5 separate regions of the Homo sapiens genome follow, and regions 2, 3, 4 and 5 are each linked to region 1. The links are contacts of gene promoters, found by promoter capture Hi-C in blood cells and fetal thymus (Javierre and others, 2016). All regions are on one chromosome and are shown on one strand. The core of a region is centred on a gene start or on the middle of the fragment in contact, and the rest is flanking DNA. Distances in the headings are between cores, read along the strand shown.

Region 1 (5,732 bases), core at 983-3,482:
CGAGAACCTATCTAAAAAAAAAAAATCCGGAAACAAAAAAATCTTTGGTGTCCCTCTCCAGTTCTCTCTCCCCATCTCACCCCTCCCAGCATCTCACTTCCTCAATGTGCTCCCATTCCTATGGCCTCCCCATAGCTGCTGTCACTGCCAAGTTCTGGCAAGTCCATATCAGCTCATGTCTAGATTACCCATGAAATCCTCCCATCCATCCCCCAGACTCCGGACCCCACCACCACTCTCAAATAAAGCACCGATCCCGCACAGAGCCGCCTCAGCGATGTTCCCAAATGCTATCCGGATCTTGTCACTGAGTAAGATCCCTCGTTGGGGACTGCCCGGCCAAAGACTAAGACCCAAATGACTCAAAACAGCACAAGGCCCTCTGTTGCCTGACCCTGCTTAATCTGCTAATAAATACCAGAAGGGCCTTAGTCTCCCACATACCTCCAGTACGCACCATGCTGGGGGGGTTGCGTTTTTTGTTTTCTTTACCCCAAGCAGTTTCCTCTGCCTGGAATCTCCCCTCCTGCTTCGCAGCCTGGCTTACAATTCATTCCTCGGAGTTGGCCTCAGCTCTCCTCTCCTCGGGAGGCCTTCTCCAGCCCACGCCCCACCCTGCCACACCCCTACTGGGCGCTCTTCCCCACGGACTACAGGCCTTCCCCTTCCCTCTGGGCTGGGGGCAGCTGGGGCTGAGTATAAGTCTTACTCACGTTGGTGCCGCCAGCCCCAAAACAAAGCCTGGCCCACGTGGGTGCTCCGCGTATGTGTGTGGCTCTAGGCGGAGATGCCGGGGGTGGAAAGAGCCGGTAACAGAAACAGAACGTGCTAGAGGAAGAGCAGCCTGCAGGGAAGGCTGGCACAGATAACCACAAAAAGAAAGAAGGCCCCCGCATCACGTCTTCACCAAGACCCCACTGGCAAGGCGAGGACAGCGCCTTTGGGTGGATGCATCTGTGACCCAGAGGCAATGCTGGCTGTCCTGGTGTCTGATTTGATTGCATCTGATTTCAAAATTTGATCTCTGCTTCCTTCTGAAAACCTCATTCCCTTATGTCAGTTGTCAACAAGCCCTTGTCTAGTGCGGGCAGACTGTTTTCCATCAAGCAGTCCCAGCCAGGCTAACAATAAAATGGTTGGCAGTGAGCTTGGGGGCAGAAACCTGTTTCCATCCATGTGTCCCCGCAGCTAGCAAAGCCCTGGCACACGGCTGACCCTCAATAAATGCTTGCTGAATGGGTGAATTGTGTCTGCTTCCCCAGGAATAGGGGTGGGAGGCCTGAAGCCCCTGGGGACCGGTGGGGGCAGACAGCCTGAGATTAAACTTGATCCATAGATAATCCCCCAAATCCAGAAGCCACCTGGACAACAGTTGGCTGAACTGAGCTCCATCGTGGGATACATGCTGATGGTACTGCTGAGTTCACCAAGGGTCTCCCCGGGACCAGAAAACAGCTCCTCAAAATACAACTTATTATTCTAATCATTATTGGAGAGTGACAGAGAAAAGAGCGTCAATCCTTTGAGGGCAGAATCCATTTAGGAAGATTAAATGGCTATTCTCACCGCCGACCCCCAACCCCCGTTTTTACTTTTACAAACTTTATTATGAAAAATATCAAACATACAGAAAAGTGGAGAAAACAGTATAACGAATCCGGCCACCCATCACCCAGCCTCAGCGATGACCAACCCGCGCCTGACCTCTCCAGTCATCTATACCCCACCCCTCGAGGCAAATCTCCGACGTCCTCTCCTTACACGCGCAGACCTCGGTAGCGACGGGAATCCGTTCCGGACTCCTCTGGGGCCCTGGCCGGCTCCCTCGGCCCTGCTCAGCGCGGCGCGGGCGGGTTCTCAGCCCACGTCCGTGAAGCTGAAGGCCGGATCGTGCGGCGCCGCCCCGCCCCCCACGGCGCTTCCTCCTCGGTCCGCACCGCGAGGGTCACCGCGGCCCCGGAGCGCCTGGGACACTCGACCGGCAGCCGCGGGTGATGCGCGAGTGAGTCCCTCAGCGAAGCGCGGAAGAGAGAACGAAGAGGCGCCTTCCACTTCCTCTCGCTCTAACGCCGGCACCCGCCCCGCGCGTCCCTCGCCCCCGCTGCCCCGCCCCCTGCAGGGCGTGGCCACGGCCCGAGGGGCGGGGAAACACCCATATTTGGCCTTATATGGGCAGCCGCGTCACGGACGGCACTCATTCACATAAAACGCTGCGCGGCCGGCGGAATCCCCGGCTTCTAGGGCGGCGAGCGGCCGGGCTGGCTATCGAGCGAGCGGGGCGGGAACGCGGAGTTGCGCCGCCGCTCGGGCGCCGGGCTCCGTCGCGGCCGCAGCCCCGCGGGTCGCCCTCCCGTGCCTCGCCCGCGGACACCCTGGCCGTGGACACCCTGGCCGTGGGCACCCGCGGGGCGCGCGGCGCGGGGCCGCTGGCCGGCGGCGGCGGCGGCATGAAGGTCACGTCGCTCGACGGGCGCCAGCTGCGCAAGATGCTCCGCAAGGAGGCGGCGGCGCGCTGCGTGGTGCTCGACTGCCGGCCCTATCTGGCCTTCGCTGCCTCGAACGTGCGCGGCTCGCTCAACGTCAACCTCAACTCGGTGGTGCTGCGGCGGGCCCGGGGCGGCGCGGTGTCGGCGCGCTACGTGCTGCCCGACGAGGCGGCGCGCGCGCGGCTCCTGCAGGAGGGCGGCGGCGGCGTCGCGGCCGTGGTGGTGCTGGACCAGGGCAGCCGCCACTGGCAGAAGCTGCGAGAGGAGAGCGCCGCGCGTGTCGTCCTCACCTCGCTACTCGCTTGCCTACCCGCCGGCCCGCGGGTCTACTTCCTCAAAGGTGAGCGCTCGGGGTCCCTGCCACGCTCGCCCCTCCGGCGCCCCCGGGTCCCCTCCCTGCGCCGGGGCGCCCTCCTACACCCTGGGACCGGGAGAGTCACCACCTGCAGGAGTCTGCACCCTGTGGCTTGTTGTGCGCTTGGGAGGGCACTGCAAATGTCAGCACTCAGAGCTCCCCCTCTTCCCCACCCGCGTTCCTCGAAAGCGCCCGGCAGCGGGTCTGCCCGGTGGTCTGGGTGGAGTTGGTTATGCTGCGGGGGCTGCTGCTGTTTAGCAGTTTGGGGGCCGTCGGCTCGTGCCGGGCACGAGCCCCCTTTCCAGACGCGAGCTTCGCCGCTGTCGCTGGGGTCAGGGCTCGGGGCCTTCCTGATAGACTGATCTGGCGGGATCAGCAGGTCGCGATCCACTCTCCCTTGGTGTGGCGCCGTGGTGCCCCCCTTCCTCCCGCCTAGCCAGCTGTGGTCTTCACCGACCCCCTTGCCTTTTTGACCTGGCGAGTCCCTTCCCTTTCCATTTCATTTTATTGCTTTTTATTGTTTCCCTCCGGCCTCTTCTCCCCTCCTAGGTCTTTTCTCTAGCTCAGTTTGGAGCTCACATCCTTTCCACCCTTTTCACCTCCTCCTTCCTCCGCCCCAGGATTATCCCTGGGACCCATCCTGAGCTGAGCCTACAGCCAGCCAGCCACGAAATAGAGGTGCGCGGGGGCAGGGTGGTATGGAGATTCTGCGGCCTTTGATTTGACACCTCCCGGAGCTACCGCCACAGGCCTGCCCATTTCACCTGCCGGGAAGATAACTTTGGCTTCTGGTGGTGGGTGGGTGATTGACTCTCAAAATCCAAAGCATTGGTTTTTTCTGGGTTACTTCCTATGACTGCTCCTGCTTTGTGTTTGAGTCCTTTGTAACCTCAAATGACACCCGGGGAGACCTGACCCACATGTAGAGATGAGGGTTTAGCCCCAGCAGGGCCCCAAGGCCGTGCCAGCCCTGGCGCGGACACCTTGGGATGTAACAGTGTTGGGGATCAGAGCTCGGTGCAGAGAGCCGGCGCCGAGTTAGGAGCCTGTTTTAAAGCCATGCAACTTGAGTTTCACACAGTCCGGGCCAGGAAGATTCTGGAGACAGTTCCCCTCTCTGCTAGCACCTCCTGCTGACTGGTCCCCTGTTGATTTCCTGTTGGAGAGTTAACAGAGGTAGATGGTAATCGTCCTTCTTCTAACAGCCTATCCCCCAGGGGATAGAGGGTTGGCCCTCTGGCTCTGCAGAGGTTTCAGCGTGCCTCCTGATTTCTTTCTCTTCCTAATATGGTTTTTATCTCCTGTGGTTTGGAGAAGTTTCTGCCTCAGTAGTATGAAAGAGGTTCCAGGAGACCCTCCCTGGTCCCACCTCTCCTCCCCATGCTTCTCTAAGCTGGCCCTGCTGACAGTTTAGAAGTTGTCGCCACAAAGTAGGCAGCTCTATAGACTCACATCTCAGGAAAACTGGGTTAAAATGTTTTTTAAAAGAAGGTAACATATACACAGGTAAAAATTTGAACAGCATGAAGGCCCTGTGATGAGAAGCGGGTCTTCTGCATATCTTAGAACCCAGTTCCACTCCCCAGAGACAGTCGTCAACTATTTTTTGTTTACCTTTAGATAGTTTTTCATAAGTATCTTAGAAATAGATTGATTTTGTATAGTCCCTGTCCTGCCTCTTGTATCTATCTAGATCTTGGAGACTTGTCCATATCTGATCATACATGTCTGTTTCACATTGAACCGGTCTCCTGTAATGACCATTAGGTTGCGTCCCGCCTCACTGCTCCAAGCAATGCGGTAGATGTCCTTCTCCATGTGCTCTTGCGTGTGCAGTGCCTTTCAGTAAATCATGAGAATTGCCAGGTCAAGAATTACATGCATTTTAAGTTTCAGTAGAAATTGCTTCATGCCTACCCTTATAACACTACTAAACTTTAAATTGTTGCCAGAGAAAATTTTTATTTCTTTACGTAATTCATGTGCAGATAGGAGTTCAGGTTTTAATCTGGTGGCATCTCAGATCTTGGTGGGGGCAATGCCTTTTGACACTTTCCATAATCCCCTGTCTCCCAAACAACCACTAAAATGAAATGGTGATGACTGAATTGCGTGGTCAGTGCTTATTTATATATAGTATCTGTGCTCTCTCTGTTCCCTGGTGATGTGGTGGTGATTGAAAGCAGACTCACTCCAAAAGAAGTAGCTCTAAGAATTGCCATGGCTTTTGCCACTCGAGTGAGGCACCAGCGAGGAATGTTCTGTCTCTCCACACCTCTGATGGGAGTGGGTGAAAGACTGAGACCATTTAATCTGGAGGATTCCTCTGAATCCCAGCTTGAAGAGGCAGGACCCTGTTTATCTGTCCCTCAACTAAATTTTGTCAACAGCATGCAGGATCCAGCCCACACCCGAACCTCTTATCTGTCCTCCTGATAGCCAACTCTGAAGTAATATATTTAAAGCCAAAAGATGGGGTAGCCTGAAGATTCCTATTTCCCCAACCTTCGTCCTGAAGTTTGGGAGGGCCCAGGTCATTCTGAACTCCAAATTCCCATCCAAATCCTTGTTTGTCTCCTGGAACCCATAATGTCGAGGTCCAGGCACGGGAAGTGATCAGGTGGTTTACTGACTAGGGATGCCTCTTCCAAGGAAGCTGTGGGTCATTGTGAGCCTGCCTCATTCTCTCTTGACTGCTGGAAGGGAAGGGGCCCAGGGGCTATGGCAGAGCATGGGAAGCTAAGCTGCCTATAGCACCATCTTGCACCTCTGCCGTGGCCTCCCGTTGTCGTGGGGAGCATGGTCATTGAGGAGGACCAGGAGCTCATGGGCAGGCGCAATGGGCTGCTTGTGAGGTGACCACAGGGGAGATCTGGGTGTACTAAGTGGGG
Region 2 (5,732 bases), core at 2,320-4,819, 1.9 Mb after region 1:
TTTTGTATTCTTAGGTTGTAAGGGAAGCCATTTTAGAAGACTTGCAGAAAATTGGGAAAGAAAGTGGCCTTAAAACTTTTGAACAGGTGTGTGCTACCACTGATGTTATACTGGCCTCTTGTCAGAAAGTTTTGTTTAAAGTTTCCATCTAATGAGGTTTAAATGTATAATTTCTAAGGAATTGATTTTAGATTTTGTGCCATTAACTACAAAATGACCTTTTGTAGTTACTTGTACAGCGCCCTTTTTTTGCTGTTTATTGTCCATTCTCCCTTCTCCCTACTCATTACTTTCTTAAATTATGTTTGTGGGAATGGGCATGTGTTACTGTTACCTTTACCCTTTCACTGCATCAACCTCACTTTCTTCACAGAGCACTCAGGGGGCTCTGCAGAGAAGTCCAAATCACTAATGAGCATGGATGTGTGTGTGTTCATCTTCCAGGTCAAAGCCATTTTTCTTCATCCAGAGCCATTTTCCATTGAAAATGGGCTCTTGACACCAACATTGAAAGCAAAGCGAGGAGAGCTTTCCAAATACTTTCGGACCCAAATTGACAGCCTGTATGAGCACATCCAGGATTAGGATAAGGTACTTAAGTACCTGCCGGCCCACTGTGCACTGCTTGTGAGAAAATGGATTAAAAACTATTCTTACATTTGTTTTGCCTTTCCTCCTATTTTTTTTTAACCTGTTAAACTCTAAAGCCATAGCTTTTGTTTTATATTGAGACATATAATGTGTAAACTTAGTTCCCAAATAAATCAATCCTGTCTTTCCCATCTTCGATGTTGCTAATATTAAGGCTTCAGGGCTACTTTTATCAACATGCCTGTCTTCAAGATCCCAGTTTATGTTCTGTGTCCTTCCTCATGATTTCCAACCTTAATACTATTAGTAACCACAAGTTCAAGGGTCAAAGGGACCCTCTGTGCCTTCTTCTTTGTTTTGTGATAAACATAACTTGCCAACAGTCTCTATGCTTATTTACATCTTCTACTGTTCAAACTAAGAGATTTTTAAATTCTGAAAAACTGCTTACAATTCATGTTTTCTAGCCACTCCACAAACCACTAAAATTTTAGTTTTAGCCTATCACTCATGTCAATCATATCTATGAGACAAATGTCTCCGATGCTCTTCTGCGTAAATTAAATTGTGTACTGAAGGGAAAAGTTTGATCATACCAAACATTTCCTAAACTCTCTAGTTAGATATCTGACTTGGGAGTATTAAAAATTGGGTCTATGACATATTGTCCAAAAGGAATGCTGTTCTTAAAGCATTATTTACAGTAGGAACTGGGGAGTAAATCTGTTCCCTACAGTTTGCTGCTGAGCTGGAAGCTGTGGGGGAAGGAGTTGACAGGTGGGCCCAGTGAACTTTTCCAGTAAATGAAGCAAGCACTGAATAAAAACCTCCTGAACTGGGAACAAAGATCTACAGGCAAGCAAGATGCCCACACAACAGGCTTATTTTCTGTGAAGGAACCAACTGATCTCCCCCACCCTTGGATTAGAGTTCCTGCTCTACCTTACCCACAGATAACACATGTTGTTTCTACTTGTAAATGTAAAGTCTTTAAAATAAACTATTACAGATACTTACGTTGTGGTGTTTCTTTCCTCATGGACCATGATGAAAATCAGTCTTAAACAAGGACCCCTTAAAAATCAAGTACAGTATCTGTTCTTAAACTTGGGTACACAATAGAATTATCTAGGAAGTTTAAAAAGACACTAATGCCCAGCACTTTGGGAGGCCGAGGCGGACGGATCATGAGGTCAGGAGACCGAGAACATCCTGGCTACTATGGTGAAACCCCATCTCTACTAAAAATACAAAAAACTAGCTGGGCGTGGTGGCGGGCACCTGTAGTCCCAGCTACTCAGAAGATTGAGGCAGGAGAATGGCATGAACCCGAGAGGCGGAGCTTGCAGCGAGCCGAGATCGCACCACTGCATTCCAGCCTGGGTGAAAGTGTGAGACTCTGTCTCAAAAAAAAAAAACAAAAACAAAACAAAAAAACCACTAATGCCTGGTTGCCACTCCAGGGATTCTGGCTTAAATGGCCGGATACAGCCTGGGCACTGAGATTGTTAAGAAGACCCACAGATGATTCTAGTCTGCGAACAGGTTAGTGAAGAAAAGTAAGTTCTGAAGACCAAACCTTCTTATCCCATAGCTGTAAAGAATAAAACAAATACCAGCTGAGCCAAAACTCCAACTGAGCACAAGTCATATCCATTCTTTTACCATCTTTGTTGTACTCTAATTATAATCTTGAATATTAATAGTATTCTTTTCTGGCCTCCAACTGGAGTTAAAGAGAATGTTCTTGGATGGTCTTTCTAGATTTTGAGCCCAGAAAAGCCAAAGAAATATCTATTCTTAAGGATCTGAAACAAAAGGGTAGGCAGGAATTAACTTTTAAAGTCTAGCTCCCATTATCACTTTAACTTTCTCGCCTTCACTTCCTTTCCTATTCTCCCCTCACGCATTACAGCTGAACCTCACTAGTTACCTTCCTGTTTCTCAAACGTGTCAGACACAGGTCCAGCCTGTTTTTGTTCTTGCTGCTGTCTCTAAAATGCAAATATCCCAAAGCACATGACTTGTCCCCTCATCTGCTTCAAATGCCAACTCAAGACTGTCCTACCTTCTTGCTTCACAATAACATGACTCCATCTTACATATATTTTACCTGTCTGTTCACTGCTGAATTCCCAAGTGCTCTTCCCTTATCCTCAACTATTACAGGCCTGGCCCCCAAAGCTTCACATTCCCTGCCTTGGAAAGGTTTCTGAAGTCCAGAGAAATAGGCTTTCTCTTTCCTTCTGTGATTCCACTGTTATGTTTAGACAAGCCCAATTTAAGCATCCAAGCCCACCAGCTTGGATCCTACCACTCACACAAGCTTCAGCTTTTTACTCAAGGGTACATGAGTAGTTTGATATCACTATGTTTAAAGTCTAGAACACTACTGCCACGGGATCCTTGGGGTGTTGCTTCCCCAGCTGGAATCCTCTGTGGCTGGCAGCCCAAAGTCCAGAGGGGGCCTAGGCGGCAGGGCGCTGGTGTCAGCACCACTCAGAGCTCACGTACACCTGGCCAGGTCCTCACAGCACCCGGGCTTGGCCTCACCTTTGCTCCAGAGCGAGTGCCAGGAGCAGGAAGAGGCCAAGCAGTTGTTGGGGGGGGGGTGTGGGGGGGGTATTTCCCCTCGGCCCCCTAGAGCACAAGGATGCCCGGGTCCGCAGCCACGGCTGGACAGCTGTAGCTACGCTTGGCTCCTGCCTATCACGGCTCCCCCTCAACACCCCTCAGGCCACCACTGCCATCCGCTGCCATCACTATGACCGCAATATCCCATTAATAGGGTTAATATCTTGAAGCAAGTGTGTCATGTCTTAAGCCACGTTTTAAGATGCCAGTTGTCCACAGGGCAGCAGAGCAGTTTTTCCATAAGGAACTAAGATGAACCTTTTTAGTCAGCAAAAAGAAAAATGCTTTAAGTAAAAACTGATTATACCCAACATCCATTGATCTTTATTTGATTTGACAAAATCTGCATTTTTAAAAGACAGGTAACAAAATCTGAGGTTATACTGAATCTGACAAATTGAGTTCTATAGTATCTAGAATATCATATAAGAAATATCAACTGAGGGAAAAGAGAAGTACCACATGCAGATGCTCCTGGCAAGGGGGGAACTGTATCTGCAGGTGAGGTCCAGAGTGTGCAGTGCATAAGAAAATCCTACAGAAAATGCCGTTAACTTACTTGGATGAAATGTTTTTCCTTTGAGGGGGAGGAAGAGGTGGTAAAGAGGGGCAGGAATTCAAAGGCATATGCAGAATGGCTTCTCCATTTCAAAATGGTAATAAAAATATTTAAATCATGGCACTAGGGCACCTTTGAGGAAAAGAACATCTTAACCAGAGTAGGCTCATTGCATAATTCTTTAGTAATATGTACAATTTTCAAGTAATTAAGCAGACTTAAAGGATAATTTTGTTTTAACAGCAGCTATCTATTTTTCTTCTCCCCCTCTGGGGCTTGATCTGTTTCAGCATCACAGGGACACTTTTCCACACATTTTCTAGGGAACCAACCCCTTATTCTTGAAACACCTGAGGGAGAAAATGAAATTGAGGTGAAATAGTCTGATGGATGACAGTGACATTACTGAAAGCAGTAAGTCCTATTACTTCAAATTAATAAGCTTGTAGTTAGACTTTTATTCCCCACTTTGCTATCTATTATAAGCACAGTTTGAAGGGGAAAAAAATAAGATTTTTAAATGTTCATAACAAGCTAGGAACAGGTATTTCCCAAATTTGATGATCCCGAATAGGGACTAATGTGGTTAAAGACAGCTCCTAACTAGAGTCAGGGGGAACTCGGTATGGGTGTTTACTTATATGTGTATGATCAGGAAAGGTGTTTTTGGCACACCATCACACTGTCTTTTCCAGGGAACTATCTTCTTGTAGTCTTTGTAAATTTCCTTTTTAGACTTTTTCTAACATATATATTTCTTTCTTTTTTTTTTTTGAGATGGAGTCTTGCTCTGTCACCTAGGCTGTAGTGCAGTGGCACGATCTCAGATTACTGCAACCTCTGCCTCCCGGGTTCAAGCAATTCTCCTGCCTCAGCCTCTGGAGCAGCTGGGATTACAGGCACACACCACCATGCCCGGCTAATTTTTGTATTTTTAGTAGAGATAGGGTTTCACCATGTTGGCCAGGCTGATCTTGAACTCCTGACCTCAGGTGATCCATCTGCCTTGGTCTCCCAAAGTCCTGGGATTACAGGCATGAGTCACCACACCTGGCCTAACATATACATTTCTATATCACGGCCGTCATAAGAGGTTAATTTATGATTAACCCCAACTATTTTTTAAAGAACATCCCGAGCTAATCTTTACTTTAAAAAGAAACAATTATAAAACTTAAGAAAAAAAAAAACACAAAGTTTCAATCTACTGGTTTTTATAACAACTTAAGAGAAATGCTCAAAGTGGGGGCAGCAAATAGTACAGGGGTTTGGTGCATAGAATCTGGAGTCAGACTGCTTGGGGTTAAGCCCTAGCTCCATCTGTTTTCAGTGCATAGCTATGGGCAAGTTGCCTCTCTGTGCTTCAGTTCCCTCAATCAAATATAAATAATAGTGCCTACCTCCGAAGTATTTTGGGGACTTCTACACCTTAAGGGTAGCACTTATACAAGTACTTTTCGCATAGTTATGAGCTCAAATGTTAGCTATCATTAAAAAGACCTGAAAAATACAAGAGCTATAGAGAAATATATAAGGAAGTTCCTTTTGTTGCTTAGTGATATACCCTTCTATGCAGTTCCCCTAATGCATTAGGCATGATTGGTTTATAAAAGTTATTCTTGTAAAATTTGGAATTATTGCTAATAGTCTTGTCCTTTAAACATGCCCTTCCATTTCCATACCTTCTATAAAGGAATCATCAAGAATTTTGTCTCCATATAACCAGTATCTGAAATATTTAAAAGATGAAAATTAATTTTTTAGGCTAGATATTAATTTTGTCCTTGAAGAAGAAATGCAGTACTTCCTATTACTTACCGTAAACCTCTTGTGGCTAAAATGAATTCCCCTTTTTGCAGCTGTATTCGAGGCTCTTCGGTGCAGGGACTTGTGAAGAAGGTTTTGATTCCTTTATTCAGAGGGCAGCAGGCACCACTATAATCTTCTA
Region 3 (5,732 bases), core at 1,214-3,713, 1.9 Mb after region 1:
TGAAAATAAACGTATAGGCTGGGTACAGTGGCTCACACTTGTAATCCCAGCACTTTGGGAGGCCAAGGCAGGTAGATCACTTGAAGTCAGAGTTCGAGACCAGCCTGGCCAACATGGTGAAACCCCCTCTACTAAAAATACAAAAATTAGCCGGATGTGATGATGCATGCTTGTTGTAATCCCAGCTACTCGGGAGGCTGAGGCAGGAGAATCGCTTGAGCCCTGGAGGCGGAGGTTGCAGTGAGCCAAGATCGTACCACTGCACTCCAGCCTGGGTGACAGAGTGAGACTGTCTCAAAAAAAAAAAAAAAAAAAGAGGCCGGGTGCGGTGGCTCACACCTGTAATCCCAGCACTTTGGGAGGTCGAGGTGGGTGGATCACGAGGTCAGGAGTTTGAGACCAGACTGGCCAATATGGTGAAACCTAGTCTCTACCAAAAATACAAAAATTAGCTGGGCGTGGTGGCACGTGCCTGTAGTCCCAGCTACTCAGGAGGCTGAGACAAAAGAATCGCTTGACTCCGTCTCAAAAAAAATAAAAAGTAAATGTGTAAATAAGTTAAAAGTGCAGAGAGTAAATGTATCCCTTGCCACACAGACACTTCTCCAGCCCACCAGGTGCTGCCAAAGCTGAGGTGCATCCCATAGAGCACTGGTCTCAAAAGCATCATGGCTGCCTGGGGAATTGGCTTTATCTTCTACTGGACCAGAAGTTCTGAGCATGCTTTCCTGTGCTAAACACACTGCCTGGCACACAGTAGGTGCTTGAATACCCAAATGGATACATTATGAGGGAACCCGCCCTCACTTAGGTCGGACTGCTTAGCGTTGCCCTTCTCATGGCATGAAGCCCCTGGCTGTGGCATTCCTGAGGAAGACTCCGCCGACCCTGTCCTGCTGTGTGCATAGAAGCATGTTCTGTTCCTTGTGGGATTGAACACTGCAAACTTTCCTTCAGCAGACTCTCCTCGCTAGTTGCCTTTCTCTCAAATTGTGCCAATGGTGAGTAAAAGGTGAAGGTGGCTTGGTAACAGCAGCTTCCCACTGTGTCTCAGGTGCCATGCTAGGTGCAGTGGAATCCACAGGTGAGGATGGTCACTATGTGCATGAGTGCTCACAGCACTGGGAGGCCTATTGACACACAGATCCATGAGTCCCAGGAAGCCTCACTGGGACCCAAACCCGAGGAAAGGGCTTATTCTGCTCCACCTCTTCTATCTCTTCTGAGCTCTGGCTCCTGTAGCTTTTCCTGTGCAATTCAGCAGCAAAGATTTTACCAGTGGAGCTGCATCGAACGCCCTAATGATTTATTTATGGTATGCTTGCCTGTGGCCCAGGACACCTGTCTGAAGCCTAGACTCTTAACCCTTTCTCTGCCAGCTGTCTTACACATTGGGACTGTTAGATGCTGTCTAGCAATTGGGCTTGGAAGAGAGATATGAGAGGTTATTATCACTTATCTTTTAAAAAATTACGTAAGCAATCGAATTGAATCTTTCCATGGTGTGGAAACTACTACTTAGCTACCACCTGGTGTTTTAACAGGGCTCCCTTTGGTAATGCTGTCTCCCTGCTCTGTCCACCACCTCTCGGCGGAGATGATAAGAAGGACCTTCCCCACTGGGTGCCATGGCTCATGCCTGTAATCCCAGAACTTTAGGAGGCTGAGGCAGGTGGATCGCTTCAGCCCAGGAGTTCAAGCCCAGGCTGGGCAACTTAGGGAGACCCCATCTCTACAAAAAACTTAAAAACAAAAAACAAAAAACAAAAGCCGAGTGTGGTTGTGCACACCTGTAGTCTCAGATACTTGTAAGGCTGAGGTGGGAGGATCACTTAAGCCTGGGAAGTTAACACTGCAGTGAGCTGAGCATGTTAGGATGGGGCTGCGATAGCGCCACTGCATTCCAGCCTGAGCAACAAAGCGAGACTCTGTCCCAAAATAAATATATAAATAAATAAAATAAGGCCCTTCCCATCTGCCTGGGGCCATGGCTATTATAAGACAATGGCTTGAGCAACTGGTGAATGGCTGGGAAGTTATCAGCAGGCTGTAGGTCAGGATCTCAGGCCATCCTTCCTTCTTAGCTACTTGGAATGAATATTGAAAGACACAGTTTCAGGGCCCCTCGGCCCTGTGACTCAGCCTTCACCTTTGCTCTGGTTTCTTATCGGTTAGAGAAATGGATGAAAAAGGTTTCCACCCACAGAGCTGCTGTCCAGCTGGATTACTCAGTGGCTGAGAAGCATTTTACACAACATGAGGGCTTGGAAGAGGCTGTGTGTCAAATGTAGTTTTGGTAGCGGGAGAGCCACACTTGTAGAAACAAAGCTGAGGTGTACACTTAGGTGCATTCACATGAAATGCCACCAACCAAGGTGGTAGAACTTTCTAAATTAGCTGCCTGTGTTGGAGGTGGGATTATATGGAGCTGTTCATTTTATTCTTTTTTTTTGTAAGTGTGCATATTTCAGATTAAACAGTACACATCAAGTGTTACCTTCCCACTGAGACTACGCTACGCCTCCCTAATTAAAACTCATCCACCAGGCGCGGTGGTTCATGCCTGTAATCCCAGCACTTTGGGAGGCTTGAGGCAGGTGGATCACTTGAGACCAGGAGCTCAAGACCAGCCTGGACAACATGGCGAAATCCTGTCTCTACTAAAAATACAAAAATTAGCCAGGCACACACCTGTAATCCCAGCTACTTGGGAGGCTGAGGCATGAGAATCGCTTGAACCCAGGAGGCAGAGGTTGCAGTGAGCCGAGATCACACCACTGCATTCCAGCCTGGGCAACAGAGCAAGACTCTGTCTCAGAAAAAAAAACAAAAAACAAAAATCTCATCCCCCTGCTGTACCCCCAGTTCTCTTTCCCTACTCTTGTTGTTTTTGTTGTTCCGTAGTCCTAAGTAACCTAGTTATTGCTCAGGCTTGTTGTCAAACTCCCCAATATAATGCAATCTCACGAGGGCAGGGTTTTCCCTGCTATATCCCCAGCACCTGGAACAATGCAACATATACAGCCAAGCCCTTCAATAGCTTTTGGCTGAATGATGGAGTAGACAAGACTTTCAAGAAATCCAGTCATGATTTCTCCTCTTCCATCTGTCTTTTTCTTGTTTTTTTGTTTTGTTTTGTTTTGTTGTTTTGTTTTTGAGACAGAGTCTTGCTCTGTTGCCCTGGCTGGAGCGCAGTAGCACAATTACAGCTCACTGCAGCCTTGACCTCCCTGGCTCAAGCGATCCTCCCACCTCAGGCTCCCAGGTAGTGGGGACTACCGGCATGCACCGCCAAGCGAGGCTAATTTTTGTATTTTTTGTAGAGACAGGTCCTCACCGTGTTCCCCAGACTCAAACTCCTGGTCTCAAACTCCTGGGCTCAAGCAATATATCCACCTCAGCCTTCCAAAGTACTGGGATTATAGGTGTGAGACACTGCACCCGACCTCCATCTCTCTTTTTCTATGAGGATTGTCTTTTCAGAAACACAAATGCGTATATAATTCATTGTAATTGAGAAGATAATGTACACACTGTCCAAATATTTTTTTCTTTCTCCCTGGCAGTACATCATGAGCTCTTTTCATATCATTACCTACAGATCGACTTTCTTTTTTAAAATACCTGCCCAGAATTCCATTGTGTGGAAGTACTGTAATTTGTTTCATTCTTCTCCTATCAAGGAAGGCTTTCCTAGGCTTTTGGATTAGAAACAATTCTACAGCTTTAAAGGTGATAAATATAATAGTTAATACATGAACCTGCGTGCCAGCCATGGTTCTAAGCACTTTATATATCCATTAACTCTTTTAATCATGGTGACAGCCTTAGAAAGGAGATGCCATTACTGCCATTTTATAGATGAGAAACCACAGAGAATTAAGTTATCTGCCCCAGGTCACAAAGAAAATGACCAAGAAGAGCTTGAGCCCAACTAGTCTGAGCCAACATTCTTAACCTGTACTTTACATGTCATTTGTGATGTAGTTTATTGATCTGATGTCTTTCTATGAGATAAGCTGATGGTAGAATTACTAGGTGAAAGGGCATACATTTTATGATGTGTAGAGGGCAATAGGGACTTCTTTAAGAGACAGCGTCAAATGTACATTTCCACAATTCACGTTGCATTTCTCACCGTTTCATCACTGGAATCTGATGCACGAGGAAAAGGCATGTCATTTAAATCTGCATTCTTAAGAACTATAAGCAAAGTTGAATGTCTTTCCCTAATTGTAAATAACTTGCTTGTTTTGCTGTGAACTTTCAGCAAGCTCTGCCCTTGCTTTATTGGGTTATATTTTGTTTTTCATTGTTGTCTGAGTTTCTTATTAAAGAAATTAACTCTTAGCCTATCTGAGGGGGTTGATACTTTTTCCTCAACGTGTCTTTGTCTCTGGTATCTTTTCTGCGGGAAAATTTTTATTTTTATATAATCAAACTTGCCAACATTTCTGTTTATAGATTTTAGGTGTTATGTCTGTCTTGAGTCTTCCCCATGCCAAATTATAAGAGAAAATCTCTCCATACTTTTTCACCCCAACCATTCTTATTGTTTTCATTGTTTTATACTTAAGTCTTTGACCTATCTTCAGCTTATTTTTGTTGTAGGAGTAAGAGAGTAGACAGCTTAATGTATTCTCTCTGAATGGCTAGCCAGTTGTCTCAGTACGTTTATTTTAAGTGAAAAAATACCTATTTTGATTTGAAATGCAATTTAGTACATGATAATAGCATCTACTGGGCATGTTTCAGGATGATTTTATTAAATAGGTTTGTCTATTCATGACCAATAGAAAACTCCTATAGCTCTTTTTTTTTTTTTTTTTTTTTTTTTTTTTTGAGGCAGAGTCTGGCTCTGTTGCCCATGCTGGAGTGCAGTGGTGCAATCTCGGCTCACTGCGATCTCCACCTCCTGGGTTCAAGCAATTCTCCTGCCTCAGCCTCCCTAGTAGCTGGGATTATAAGCGCACGCCACCATGCCAAGCTAATTTTTGTATTTTGAGTAGAGACAGGGTTTCACCATGTTGGCCAGGCTGGTCTTGAACTCCTGACCTCAAGTGACCCGCCCGCCTCGGCCTTCCAAAGTGCTGGGATTACAGGCATAAGCCACTGTGTCTGGCCAGAAAACTCCTATAGCTCTATAGTAAGTATTTAAATTTGGTAATGATTGCTGGTCTGCCACCTACCCAATTCCTGCTATTTTTCAAAATTGTTTCACTCTTTGTTAAGTTTTATTTTTTTCTGGATGTACTTTAGAATTAGCATTTTAGTTCCTAAGAAAGCCTTCATTAGGGTTGCATTAAATGTATAGATACCTTTAAGGTGACAGGAACCTTGAATATTTCAGGTATGTCTTTCCATTTTTCTAGCCTTCTTAGGTACTTCAGATCTAAACTTTTAAAATATAGGTTTTACGCATTTATTCTTATATACACTATTGTGAATAGCATCTTTTTCATGACTTCTAAATCAGTTATTTGTATAAAATATAGGAAAGCTATTAACTCTCTGCATACCAATTTTAGTAACTGGCCACCTCCAAATTATCTCAGTAATTATAAAACTGAAACATACTAGTTACCTCTTATTTCCTTAGAGGGTTTTTAGAATTTCTCCTCTCAGCTCTTTTTTTAAATTTTGTTTTGTTTTTTAATTGGGAGATATGACCACAGATTTTTATGTCAGATCTGAATGTTGACCCCTTGGATTTTGAATCATTTTAAATAGCT
Region 4 (5,732 bases), core at 2,025-4,524, 1.9 Mb after region 1:
TTTAGGTTTGCCAAGACACTTTTGCTGTCATAGTGTCCCAAACACTGAGCAAATAAAGAATGTGTCCTGGCCGGGAGCGGTGGCTCACGCCTGTAATCCCAGCACTTTGGGAAGCTGACGCAGGCAGATCACCTGAGGTCAGGAGTTTGAATCCAGCTTGGTCAACATGGTGAAACCACATCTCTACTAAAAACACAAAAATTAGCCAGGCATAGTGGCAGATGCCTGTAATCCCAGCTACTCAGGAGGCTGAGGCAGGAGAATCACTTGAAACCGGGAAGCAGAGGTTGCAGTGAGCAGAGATCATGCCAATGCACTCCAGCCTGGGCAACAGAGCAAGACTCCTCAAAAAAAAAAAAAAAAGAAAAAATATGTACTAATCCATCTTTCTCTGGTGATGACACACTCTTGACCCACAGAATGTTTCTCCATCTGTGTAAATTGGCGACCTTTGTGGCACTGGGCTTGGCATCTGGCAGCTTCTTTCTGGTGGATAGCCATACATCTAAAGTGAGACAGGATGTCCCTGACTCCTCCGCCCTCTCCAGTTTCTTGTCTGGAGAAACCAGGAGCCCTCCCACTTCCTGGCATTTCCTCTCTGCTCCTGGTAAAGGCTCTTGAGCCAAGCACGTGGTGTGTCTGTCCCCAGGCTGTGAGCCCAGGGAAAGAAAGCTTGCAAGGCAGAGGATAATATCCTTAAAGGCTTGAAAAGGAGGGAGGTGCTGACATCCCCCCAGAATACTGGTATTCCTATCTATGGCACAGGAACCCCGGCTTCTCCCACTACCTTCCTGTAGAAGGCAGTGTCGCAGAATGGCTGTAAGCACAGGTTTTGGAATGAGAAAAGCTGGCATGGACAAGTTATGTATTATCTGAACCCAATTTCCTCATTCGTAATTACTCTGACAACCTTTTGCAAGGATTAAATGAAGTAGTAAATGTAAAATACACAGCATAGTGCCTGGCATGTAACAATAGCCAGTAAGTGGTAGCAGTTTTATAATAAAGGTTTATTGCTCCAGGCAAAAGATCATAAAGTCTGTTGGATGGATTCTGTGTTGACCCTAAGGAACAAATTGCTGCTGCTGCAGAAACCAGAGGAACAGGTAAAAGATGTTGCTGGGACAGGTTTCTGAAGATGCCTGGATTTATAATTGCTAATATATACAGGCATATACATAGTTTTCAAGCATTACATGGGATGATGAAGCTCTGGCTGGTTTTTAGGGGGAAAAAAGTTCTCCCAGAACAATTACAACATGTTCATTGCTGCCACTGGGCAACACTACCTTTTGCTTATATTCTGTAGGCATTAAGTCAAAGGGCCTTTGGTTTCTTTGTCTTTTTTATTTTTTTTAGACTGAGTCTCACTCTGTCACCCAGGCTGGCGTGCAGTGGCGTGATCTTGGCTCACTGCAACCTCTGCCTTCCAGGTTCAAGCTATTCTCATGCCTCAGGCCAGGCTGGTCTCAAACTCCCGACCTCAAGTGACCCGCCAACCTTGGCCTCCTAAAATGCCGTGATTACTGGCGTGAGTCACCACGCCTGGCCAGGGCCTTTAGTTTCTAAATCAGCACTGTCCAAAAAAATAACACGAGTAACATATATTATTTAAAATTTTCTAGCACACACATTTAAAAAAGTAAAAATAGCAGTTAAGATTACTTATCAAGAGTATCCTAAATATTATAATTTCAACACATAATCAGTATTTTAAACATTGAGATTTTATGTTATTTTCTTTATACCACATCTGGAAAATTTGGTGTGTGTTTTATACTTAAACACCTCTCAATTTAGACTTGCCTCATTTCAACTGCTCAGTAGCCACGTGTAGTTAGTGGTTATAGTATTGAACAGTAAATTTTCACTCTGAGCCACCCTTTTAATCCCCTGGGAGATAGCGATGTTTCCTATGGGGTGTTGAAGGTTCTGGGAATTTCAACTTGACACCTCTCTCAGTGGCCTCAGTTCTGTCTATCTGATTCTTTAATGCTCTTTGGAAGCTCTTGCTGATAAAGGAACAAGCTGCCTACATCATGACACTGAGAATAATATTTATTCAGCATACTTAAAGCCTGAGATGGGGCCGGGCACGGTGTCTCACGCCCATAATCCCAGCACTTTGAGGGGCCGAGGCGGGCAGATCACCTGGTCAGGAGTTTGAGACTGGCCGGGCCAACATGGCGAAACCCCTTCCCTACTAAAAATACAAAAATTAGCCCGGTGTGGTGGCAGGTACCTGTAATCCCAGCTACTTGGGAGGCTCAGGTGGGAGAATCGCTTGGACCTGGAAGGCGGAAGTTGCGGTGAGCTGAGATCACACCACTGTACTCCTGCCTGGGCAACAGGGCGAGGCTCCACCTCAGGGGGATAAAAAAAAAAAAAAGGCTGAGATGGGGCTGTTCACGAGCACATCCCGAGGGTTGAGGGTGATCAGTGTCTACTGGCCCTTCCATGTGTCATGTGTCATGCCCCACCCATTGGAAAGCTCAAATCTAAGGCTGAAAGGCAATTTGCTTTGGGTGTGTGGTTCAAGAAAGGGGAGGGGTGCCTGGGGTTGGGGGAGCTTTTTATTGTAATCTGGGCAAACAACATTCTTGTCAGCCAAGTGCTCACACTTGGGTAACACTTTCTTCCCACGAAGAGTAAGCACGTGTTCTCAAGAGCATGCATGCCCAAGCAATTGATATCAGCAGCTACAGTTAAGAGAAAGAGTTGCTGCCATCGCTGAGCTGTGGGGTCAGCTTCTTCCTCATACCCTGTGATGTTCCCATGGTGCAGGGTTCACTACAGGGCCCAGAATGGAGCTGTGAGCCCTTGCCGCATAGCAGACGGCTAAGAAGAAAGAGCTAGGGGGTCGCACAGCTGGGACCCGTGGAGCATTGGCCCCTCCAGTGAAGTGAAGCAAGGCTCTGAGTTGGTAATGGGCTCTGCAGCAGGCAGGATGTCCAGGCTGCTAGGGACCCCTTCTCGAGGGGGCCGGACCCTTGGCATCCGGTCCACATGTCTGGTATTGGGTCTGGCTTCCTGTAGGGCAATGGGTCTTAGTTTTCTTTGAGAGACCAGTAAAAATTCTGAAAAGAAACGCATATATAAACACACCAGTTTGCTAGGGGGTCTTGGAACGGATGGTACGCAGTCACAGATATGTGCTTGGGCTCTAGACTCAAGACCACCTAAGCTCAAAATCTGACTCTGAGACTCAGCCAACTGTTAGCTGTGTACCTTGGAGGTTTAATTAGGCTACCCCCTAGCTCTTTCTTCTTAGCCGTCTGCTATGCAGCAAGGGCTCACAGCTCCATTCCGGGCCCTGTAGTGAACCCTGCACCATGGGAACTTCATGGGGCATGAGGAAGAAGCTGACCCCACAGCTCAGCGATGGCAGCAACTCTTTCTCTTAACTGTGTTACTTGGCCTCTCTTAGATTTTCCTCTCCTTCTAAATAGCAATAAAAACTTCCATAGGGCTGCTGTGTGATTAAATGCGATAGTACTTAAATGTAGTGTTGCCACCACGCGGTAGGAGCTCAGTGATGTTCGCCATCATGAAGGCCTTCAGAGAGGATCTGGCATGAAAAACTTGAATCACTGCCCTGTAAGTTGTACTTTGAGTGTCATTAGCCTTTTGAAATATCAGATAACCAGGGAAAGGGCGAACATGAATTTCTGTGGCTGATTATGACACCCTGGTTATGAGTTAAGGGACTTCGCTCCTTCCTTCTCATATCTCAGTACACAGATAAACTTCAGAGTCAACTCTGCCATGTGGGAAGCTAAAGGTCAGTGCAACACAGCTCTGTTTTTGCCCACTGCATGCCATCACAACCTCTGCCCTGCTATTCAGCTAACTCCAGGAAGGGACATCTCCCCTCTTTCTTTGTGATCCATCATTGTGAAGTTAACAAGAATAGATCCAGCCCATAGCTCTAGGTCTTTGCTTCTCTTGCCTGTTGAGTCATGTTGTTTGACTTGAAAAGGCTTGACGTAGAGGTCAAAACAGCCTAAGATCCTTCCTAAATAAGTGTTTCGCGTGCTTCACATGTCCCAGCTACTGCAGACATCATGAGCTTTCCCTTTTCTCTCTGGTCCTCACATTTCTTCTTTGCCCTCACCAAAAATGCTTATGGTAAGCATTATTTTGTGACTGTTCCATCATCTTAATCCAGTGAAATATTCTAAAACAAAAGATCTAGAGGTTTAAGATGAATCTTCTAGATTCTGAGGTCAGAGGTTATATTAAAAGGAGAAATCTGGGGCCGGGCATGGTGGCTCACATCTGTAATCCCAGCACTTTGGGAGGCCGAGGCGTGTGGATCACTTGAGGTCAGGAGTTCAAGACCAGCCTGGCCAACGTGGTGAAACCCTGTCTCTACTAAAAATACAACAACAAAACAAAATTAGCTGGGTGTGATGGCAGGTGCCTGTAATCCCAGCTACTCGAGAGGCTGAGGCAGGAGAATTGCTTGAACCCAGGAAGCAGAGGTTGCAGTGAGCCAAGATTGTGCCACTGTACGCCAGCCTGGGCAACAGAGCGAGACCCTGTCTCAAAAAAAAGGACTTCATTAGGTTCAGTGGTCTCTGGAATCTGGACATATTCACTAAGACCTTTAAGTAACATTTGGTTGCTCTGCCTGACTCGTCTCAACCTGCTGTGAAATCTGCTTTGCAACCAGCTGTGCTTCCTAAAGAAAGGCAGATTTTCAGAGACAAGCTGCAAATCACTTGGCTTTGCAAAATCGCCTGAAATTATTAAAAAATAACACTTGGCCCCACCACCGTCATCACTCTGTTACCAAGCTATAGGATCTTGGGAAGGGATGTCATTTCTCTGAGCTTCTATTTTTCTTGTCTGTACAAATCATAACTACCTTCCAAGTGTATTGTGAGGGTCAAATGAAGTGTTTGTCACAGGACCTGGCTCCCAGCAGCCACTGGAAGTTTGGATGTTGAAAGTATTGTTCCCACTCAGACCTCACAGGTTTGCTAAGAGGCAAACTAGAAGCATTTTATAAACCGGGAGGAGCTATGTGAATGCATGATGGCACTATGTAAAGTTAGTCTGCTTATATTGTCTGTCTTTCTCTGCTTTCTAAAACATGGGGGGCTGGGTGCGGTGGCTCACACCTGTAATCCCAACACTTTGGGAAGCCAAGTCAGGCAGATCACTTGAGGTCAGGAGTTCAAGACCAGCCTGGCCAACACGGTAAAACTCCATCTCTACTAAAAATACACAAAAATAATAATAATTTAGCCAGGCATGGTGGCAGGTGCTTGTAATCCCAGCTACTCGAAAGGCTGAAGTAGGAGAATGGCTTAAACCCAGGAGGCAGAGGTTGCAGTGAGCCAAGATTGTGCCACTGCACTCTAGCCTGGGCAACAGAGTGAGACTTCATCTCAAAAGTAAAATAAAATAAAATAAAACGAGGGGAAAGCCTGGTTTCTGTTTCTGAAGAGTTGCCAGCCTCTGCCATTAAAGATAAAATGACTATTTCCAGGCTGTGTTACAAAACTCTAGAATGTTAGACTCTAGTATTCTAGAACAACATTGTGTAGTACATGTGTGGTTTCTTTGGCCCTAGGAAGAGGGTGGGAGTGTATACAAACAGTTCCCAGCAGTGTGGTTGTGAGTATGTCAGCATTGTAGCGGGATTGTATACAAACAGATCCCAGCAGCATGGTTGTGAGTATGTCAGCGTTGTAGCTGTGGGGCAGACTCCTCACTCCTCCAGA
Region 5 (5,732 bases), core at 1,843-4,342, 1.7 Mb after region 1:
TTCTTGAGACACAGTCCCAGAGAAACTAAAGGTTACTAAGAATTACTTCCCCCTCCCACTCCTACCGCCCATCCCTGCCTCTTCCCACCTTTACACCTTGCCCCGCCCTTACCTACTGCTGTTCAGCACATTTTCAGTCACATTGGTGGCAAACATGCCCTTATGCACATCTCGCTCTTGAATAAAAAGAACGTAAGAAAGGCGTCTTGCAAGCCATCCGCGGTGTCTGTGAAAATGATTTAGCAGAGAAGTATTAGAGGTACCCCTAAAACAAGTTGCTTAAATCATAAACTAATTTTCCGCCCATAAAAACAAAGCCTAATGTCATCTCTTTCTGAGATTTAGGGTTCTCCTACAGCAAATTCTCCTTAGTAGTTCAGAATGTTGTGCAGCCAATTTTATTCATGTACTCTCAGCTAAAACTGAAACTTGGAATTTGTGTATTAATGTTTGAATAGTGTTACTGTGCCGAATAACCCTAATATGAAAACAAAAGAAATAAGAACATCTGGCTTTATTAATACCATTAAAAAGGCAAAAATGTTTAATGCTATATATAAGCTATATCTATTCTGATAAACCATACAGCTTATATTTATAGCTATGGGCTATAAAAAGATAAATTTGGAAGTCTTTTCCTATGATCAAAGACTAATTTTTTTTGTTAAGTTTTTGTTTGTTTTTTCCTAAGATAATCACTGATTCTCTAATTGAATTGACAAGGCAGATCAGTTGAAAGAAGTCAAGCATGATCTAAATATTTGTACTCTAGGCTAACGAAGCCAGAATTTCTCACTTTTTCCCCCTTCACATTTTAAATACACCTGAGGGATAGAACATATTCCTGTCAGTTATAAATGACTATGTGGTGTTTAGATGGGAGGATGGAGAGATGAGTTTCAGAATAAGAATGCTACAAGCTTTCATTATGTAATACTTTGAAAACATTTGTAATGATTACATGATATCACATTATTATTATCAATTCAGTAACTCTGAAAAGACCCAGAATACCCTCAATAGAGAAAAAGTAACTTGAAAGAGAACTGTTTATGAATCACCTATTTCTTCACCTCTCCTTCCTGCCATTCTCTTTTTCTTCCTCCCTTCCTTTGTCTAAATCTTCCAAAAATTTGGCCCAATATATTAAATGTTAATCCTAAACTCCTCCTTCAGTCAACATTTTCAGAAATATTATTGGTATGTACAAAGTCCAAGCTCTCTATGAAATCCCTTTGCAACTGACTGAAAGCATTGTGTGTGTGTGCGCACATGTGCATGAGTGTGACAGTGACAGAGTGTGTGACTCTATGTGAATGTGTAAAAATGTTTTAGGCTTTGCTTCATAGAATACACAGAAGAAGTAAATAGCTGAACATGCAGCTTATTTCACTGAATAGTTTCATTCTGCCTCGTCATCATAGCAAATGCGATTTTCCTTAACTGTCTCTAATTGAGGGCAAGAAACAAACCTCTTGGCTTTATATATAAAATATCTACTTACATAAGGAAGACTCTGAGATCCCTTTTCTTAGGATCTTATCATCTTATCAAAAAAAATTCAACGGACCAAAGTCTCTCCCCTCTTTTTTAAATTTAAATTTAAATGCAAATTTAAAAGAGAGAGAGAGAGAGACCAGCAGCCTGGGAATGATCTGCTCATGTACTTAGACTTAAGTTCTATTTTTAAAAGTTTACTATATATCCAAGTATTATCATTCTCATATGTGATCTCATCATCAAATTATGAGAAGTAATATCATAAGGGCTTCAAGTAGTTGATTTCTTGCACTAATTTTCATAGAATTTCAAGTATTTCTCATCTGAGCCTATCTGCCTGCCTACTCCAGGTATCTATTTTTAGAATTACAAGGACTGCTAGCATTTGGCTACTGATTCTCTTGCCTCACAGACATTCACACAACCTTTCGACCCTCCTTCCCTGTCCCCTGGCCTAGAGTCAGATAAAACAAAGACCTTTTTCTCTCACACTGGTGCTTACAAGCCTATCCCCATATGCCTAGAAATTGTAAGAACTCTAAGTAAAGTCTTGGGTAAATAGTAACTCAAACAACATTTGCTCAACAGAGAAAATGTCTTTTAACACCCTACAGATTGGGCAGATTTCAATAATTTATACTTTTTTTAAGTATTAAATAGTCATAATAAATCATAAGAGATTCAAACCTACCGGTCTTCTCAGACAAATATTTCCCACATTTTGGCATACTTCATATGCAAATCAATATAAGTCAAAGAACATTCTAAGTGACATCTACACTCCCCTGAAATTATCTGTAAGTACACAAGTGGTAACAGTAATAGTTCTCTCTGTGGCTATACTGCTTCCAATTTTCAGATAATCTCTCTTGTGTCAGAAACTCATATTCTATTCACTCTCAGTAATGCAAAGCAATTCAGCTTAAAGTGTGTTAACTGATTATTATGAAGTTTTTCTTTTGAGATGTATTAAAAACATAAGAAATTTCTTTTTACCTTGTGTGAGTTTCATTGATATAAATAACATTCCGCAAACCCAAAGACGGGATACTGGGGTTGAAAAATTTGTCCTATATAAAACAAAGTAAATGTAGACATAAATACACAACTAGATTGACGGTGAAGAGCTCTCATTATGAGTTCTTGATAACTTTAATATCAAGCATAAAAACAGATATTGCCTCAAAAATCTTAGGGAAGAAAAAAGTTTTATTGAAAAGTACTTTTTAGCCTTCAAAGAATGTCATAAACTCAAAATTCATCTTTAAAATCTTAAAACTAGCCAGGCGCAGTGGCTCACACCCGTAATCTCAGCACTTTGGGAGGCCGAAGCGGGCAGATCACCTGAGGTCATTAGTTTGAGACCAGCCTGGCCAACATGGTGAAACTCCGTCTCTACCAAAAATATAAAAATTAGCTGGGTGTGGTGGTCGGTGCCTGTAATCCCAGCTACTTGGGAGGCTGAGGCAGGAGAATTGCTTGAACCTAAGAGACGGAGGTTGCAGTGAGCCAACACGATGCCATTGTACTCCAGCCTGGGCGACAAAGCAAGACTCCATCTCAAAAAAACAAAAACAAAAACAAAAAACAAACAAACAAACAAACCACCTTAAAACCAAAGGAAACAGTACCCCTTGCTGCTTGACTCCTCATCTCCACCCTGAAAGAAGTGAAGCTACAAGAATGTCAGAGATTTCAGTTTTCCCAAAATACAAAGACCACGCTAAGTACCATGCAGTTATTGTTGCTTACTAAATCTCCCAAAATCCCTGACACAAAAGAGTTATCACCATTTTCTAGGTGAGAAACTAAGACCGGGAGAGGTTTAGGATTCAATCTTATGTCTTGATCTAAAGAGTATGGTCTTTCTATTACCCCTAAATAACTGTCCATTTAATGAGAAATCGTCTGTCTACTGGTCACCCTCTTTACATGTGATCTTGAAAGATAATCCAGAGATAGCTTTGCTGAAAAGATAGTCTATAGCTTTATCAATATGGGCAAAAAGGTAACTGTTCCACACTTAAATGCTGAAAAAGCACAATGTTCCCTCAACAAATATAAAACTACTTAAGTGGAATCTCTTTAGAGAAAAGGAAAATACGATTTCAGAGAAAAGATAGCAAATATTATACAGTTACCAATAAAAACATTTTTAAACAAATTATTTTAAATGATCATGTCATGGAAGTAATTCAAGATCAAGTTCAACTCCATCAGGTACTATAGTAGGGCAAAAATCAATTGTCTGTTGTACTATCTACCTTTACCCTTTACTCCAAACCATTACCACCACCAAATTATTTCCTATACCCTCTGACTTAAGAACACATTGTAGTTATTGTTTTAAGTATTCAAAATTAGAATTAGACTAGATGTCAGATCTAAAAAGAAAATGACATTCTGTTTAAATCTTGATTTCAAGTGACCTATTAATCTGAACTAGCTTTACTCCTAGGCTAGAAATTTCTGTGATTCTTGAATTCTACCAAATTCTTGCAACAAGGTAGTTGTGGTTTAAAAGAAGCAATATTTATAACAAGACATTCTTCAGCAGATCTGAACATTTAACATAAACTGCTTGGGTTCCACACAAATCTCTCCCATGTTAGTAAACCCCTTTATACCAGACTCAGAATTCTACTTTCTGCCAAACCAACCTTGAGTAGAAAATTCACACAGCACAATTACCTAGCCACACAAGTTACAAGCAACCTCTATAAATGGCAGGCACTTAAACGGCAGAATTTCTTCATCCTAATAACTGGATCCCAGAGAGAGCTTAACATCCAGATATGACTTTTAAAAGGCAATTCTACTGCCTTCAAACACAACTACGTGAAGTTCTTGTTCCTGTGCTAATTTGTCCTTCTCTTCAACTACCACCGAAAATATACCTCTCACCCACTTGGCTCTTCTCAAAGACTGCACTGTAATGCAAAAGATATTGCATGGCTTGTGTTTTTTCACCAAAATACAAACAACAAACCCATATACACTCTCTTAAATCTTCATTCTAACATTTTAGTGACAATCTTTCACTATCACAAAGTCAACAGACACCTTCCATTAGCAAAGGCTCAGAGCAAAGTCACAGCTTTAACTTCTTATTCTGTCCCATTATCTCTTTCTTATCTTGCTAGAATTTTAATGTTAAGTGCTAAAGTTCAACACCTAAAAGTTCATGAAGGTTCCCACTAACTCCTTTGAAGACTTAACCAAAAGTAAGATCTACTCTCCCCCTTAAAATCCTACTAAAACCTCAAAAGAACTAGAATGTTACCTAGTATCAATTATGGGACCAATATTTACTGAATAAATAAATGGAAAGAAAAAGTGTGTCAACATCTTTACTTGAAATATTTGGTTCATAAACATGGGTCTCTGTTCTGAAAGTGAATTTAGTCCAATAAGACTGCCTACTACAAAGTTGGAAATAATATTTTATGCTGAGTATTAGGGTCAATAAGCAGTAAGGTTCTTACCCAGCTCTGGGGAGTGCAGGAGTAACAACATCTTCCAACAAATGGCCTTTTCCGACTCATTAGGCTTTCTTTCCATTTTAAAGTTGCAGATCTGAAGATGGTGGGTCTAAAGCCACACTCACCCTGACAAATATTAAGAAAAAAATATAGTTTCTAAATGGCAAGAGAATACTTGTCTACTTGATCTCAAAATCTAAAGTATTTTGAACAGAAGAAAAACTTATGGCATATTCTGGGTGATTTTCATTTAAGTACTCCCTCCATGATCAACACTTGGATAAAAGCTTACCACATAAGCAAAAGCTGAGCACCCAAGGATAGTAATAGCTACACACTGAAGGCAGTATTCAAAAATTTAAAAACTAAATTGTAGAAGGTCAAACAGACTTCTGACAGCTAGATAAATCAATTCAGACTCCTGGATCTCTAGTCTAACAATTAACCTTACCCCCTTTTAAATCACACAGTCGCACTACAGAACTATAAAGGCCTTACATAGTGAGCAAGTTTTTATAATTTTACTTTAAATAAAAAACAGGTAAACTTATATAACATTCCTTTATCTTATCAAGGGAACTTAAAGACCAGAACTTAAATTATAGCTATACTATTCAATTAGGGTCAAACCTTGCTCTTCTATTCTAAAAATGCTTAACTTTGAGCTCAGTTGCTCACATCTCTGTTATACAGATATAACATTCTCAAAATTAAGCAAAAAAAAAAACCCCACCATTTTTTATATAAAGA

Evidence for each region. Contacts are between HindIII fragments. The CHiCAGO score rates a contact against its expected background, and 5 or more counts as called.
Region 2: a fragment that was not itself captured here is called in contact with the fragment with the promoter of DUSP5 in region 1 in 1 of 17 cell types (M1 macrophages); the score reaches 5.1 in M1 macrophages.
Region 3: a fragment that was not itself captured here is called in contact with the fragment with the promoter of DUSP5 in region 1 in 1 of 17 cell types (M1 macrophages); the score reaches 5.1 in M1 macrophages.
Region 4: a contact is called between a fragment that was not itself captured here and the fragment with the promoter of DUSP5 in region 1, in 1 of 17 cell types (total B cells). The highest score is 5.1, in total B cells.
Region 5: a fragment that was not itself captured here is called in contact with the fragment with the promoter of DUSP5 in region 1 in 2 of 17 cell types (naive CD8 T cells and non-activated CD4 T cells); the score reaches 6.2 in naive CD8 T cells.

The regions. Positions count from the first base shown.
Region 1 is chr10:110,495,675-110,501,406 of GRCh38, forward strand. DUSP5 (dual specificity phosphatase 5) reads left to right here and starts at 2,233. Exons shown (of 4, transcript NM_004419.4): 1 at 2,233-2,826. The coding sequence starts at 2,448. It overlaps DUSP5-DT (DUSP5 divergent transcript), which reads right to left and starts at 808. Exons shown (of 2, transcript NR_187547.1): 1 at 714-808. RefSeq lists an enhancer at 755-1,278 and silencers at 1,760-2,289, 2,300-2,439, 2,510-2,569, 2,690-2,959. The HindIII fragment of the contact is 7,811 bases long and covers 1-5,732 here.
Region 2 is chr10:112,426,774-112,432,505 of GRCh38, forward strand. It overlaps ZDHHC6 (zDHHC palmitoyltransferase 6), which reads right to left. Exons shown (of 11, transcript NM_022494.3): 9 at 5,603-5,732; 10 at 5,467-5,513; 11 at 3,527-4,134. The coding sequence ends at 4,031. It overlaps ACSL5 (acyl-CoA synthetase long chain family member 5), which reads left to right. Exons shown (of 21, transcript NM_203379.2): 20 at 15-86; 21 at 445-1,603. The coding sequence ends at 585. Among named protein-coding and RNA genes, the nearest start is that of ZDHHC6, 17 kb to the right of the region's middle. The HindIII fragment of the contact is 1,309 bases long and covers 2,916-4,224 here.
Region 3 is chr10:112,381,370-112,387,101 of GRCh38, forward strand. All of the region lies in intron 1 of ACSL5 (acyl-CoA synthetase long chain family member 5), which reads left to right. Among named protein-coding and RNA genes, the nearest start is that of ACSL5, 10 kb to the left of the region's middle. The HindIII fragment of the contact is 8,019 bases long and covers 1-5,732 here.
Region 4 is chr10:112,361,533-112,367,264 of GRCh38, forward strand. No RefSeq gene overlaps it. Among named protein-coding and RNA genes, the nearest start is that of ACSL5, 9.7 kb to the right of the region's middle. The HindIII fragment of the contact is 5,209 bases long and covers 671-5,732 here.
Region 5 is chr10:112,175,488-112,181,219 of GRCh38, forward strand. It overlaps GPAM (glycerol-3-phosphate acyltransferase, mitochondrial), which reads right to left. Exons shown (of 22, transcript NM_001244949.2): 4 at 4,986-5,108; 5 at 2,497-2,570; 6 at 113-226. Among named protein-coding and RNA genes, the nearest start is that of GPAM, 5.4 kb to the right of the region's middle. The HindIII fragment of the contact is 4,349 bases long and covers 919-5,267 here.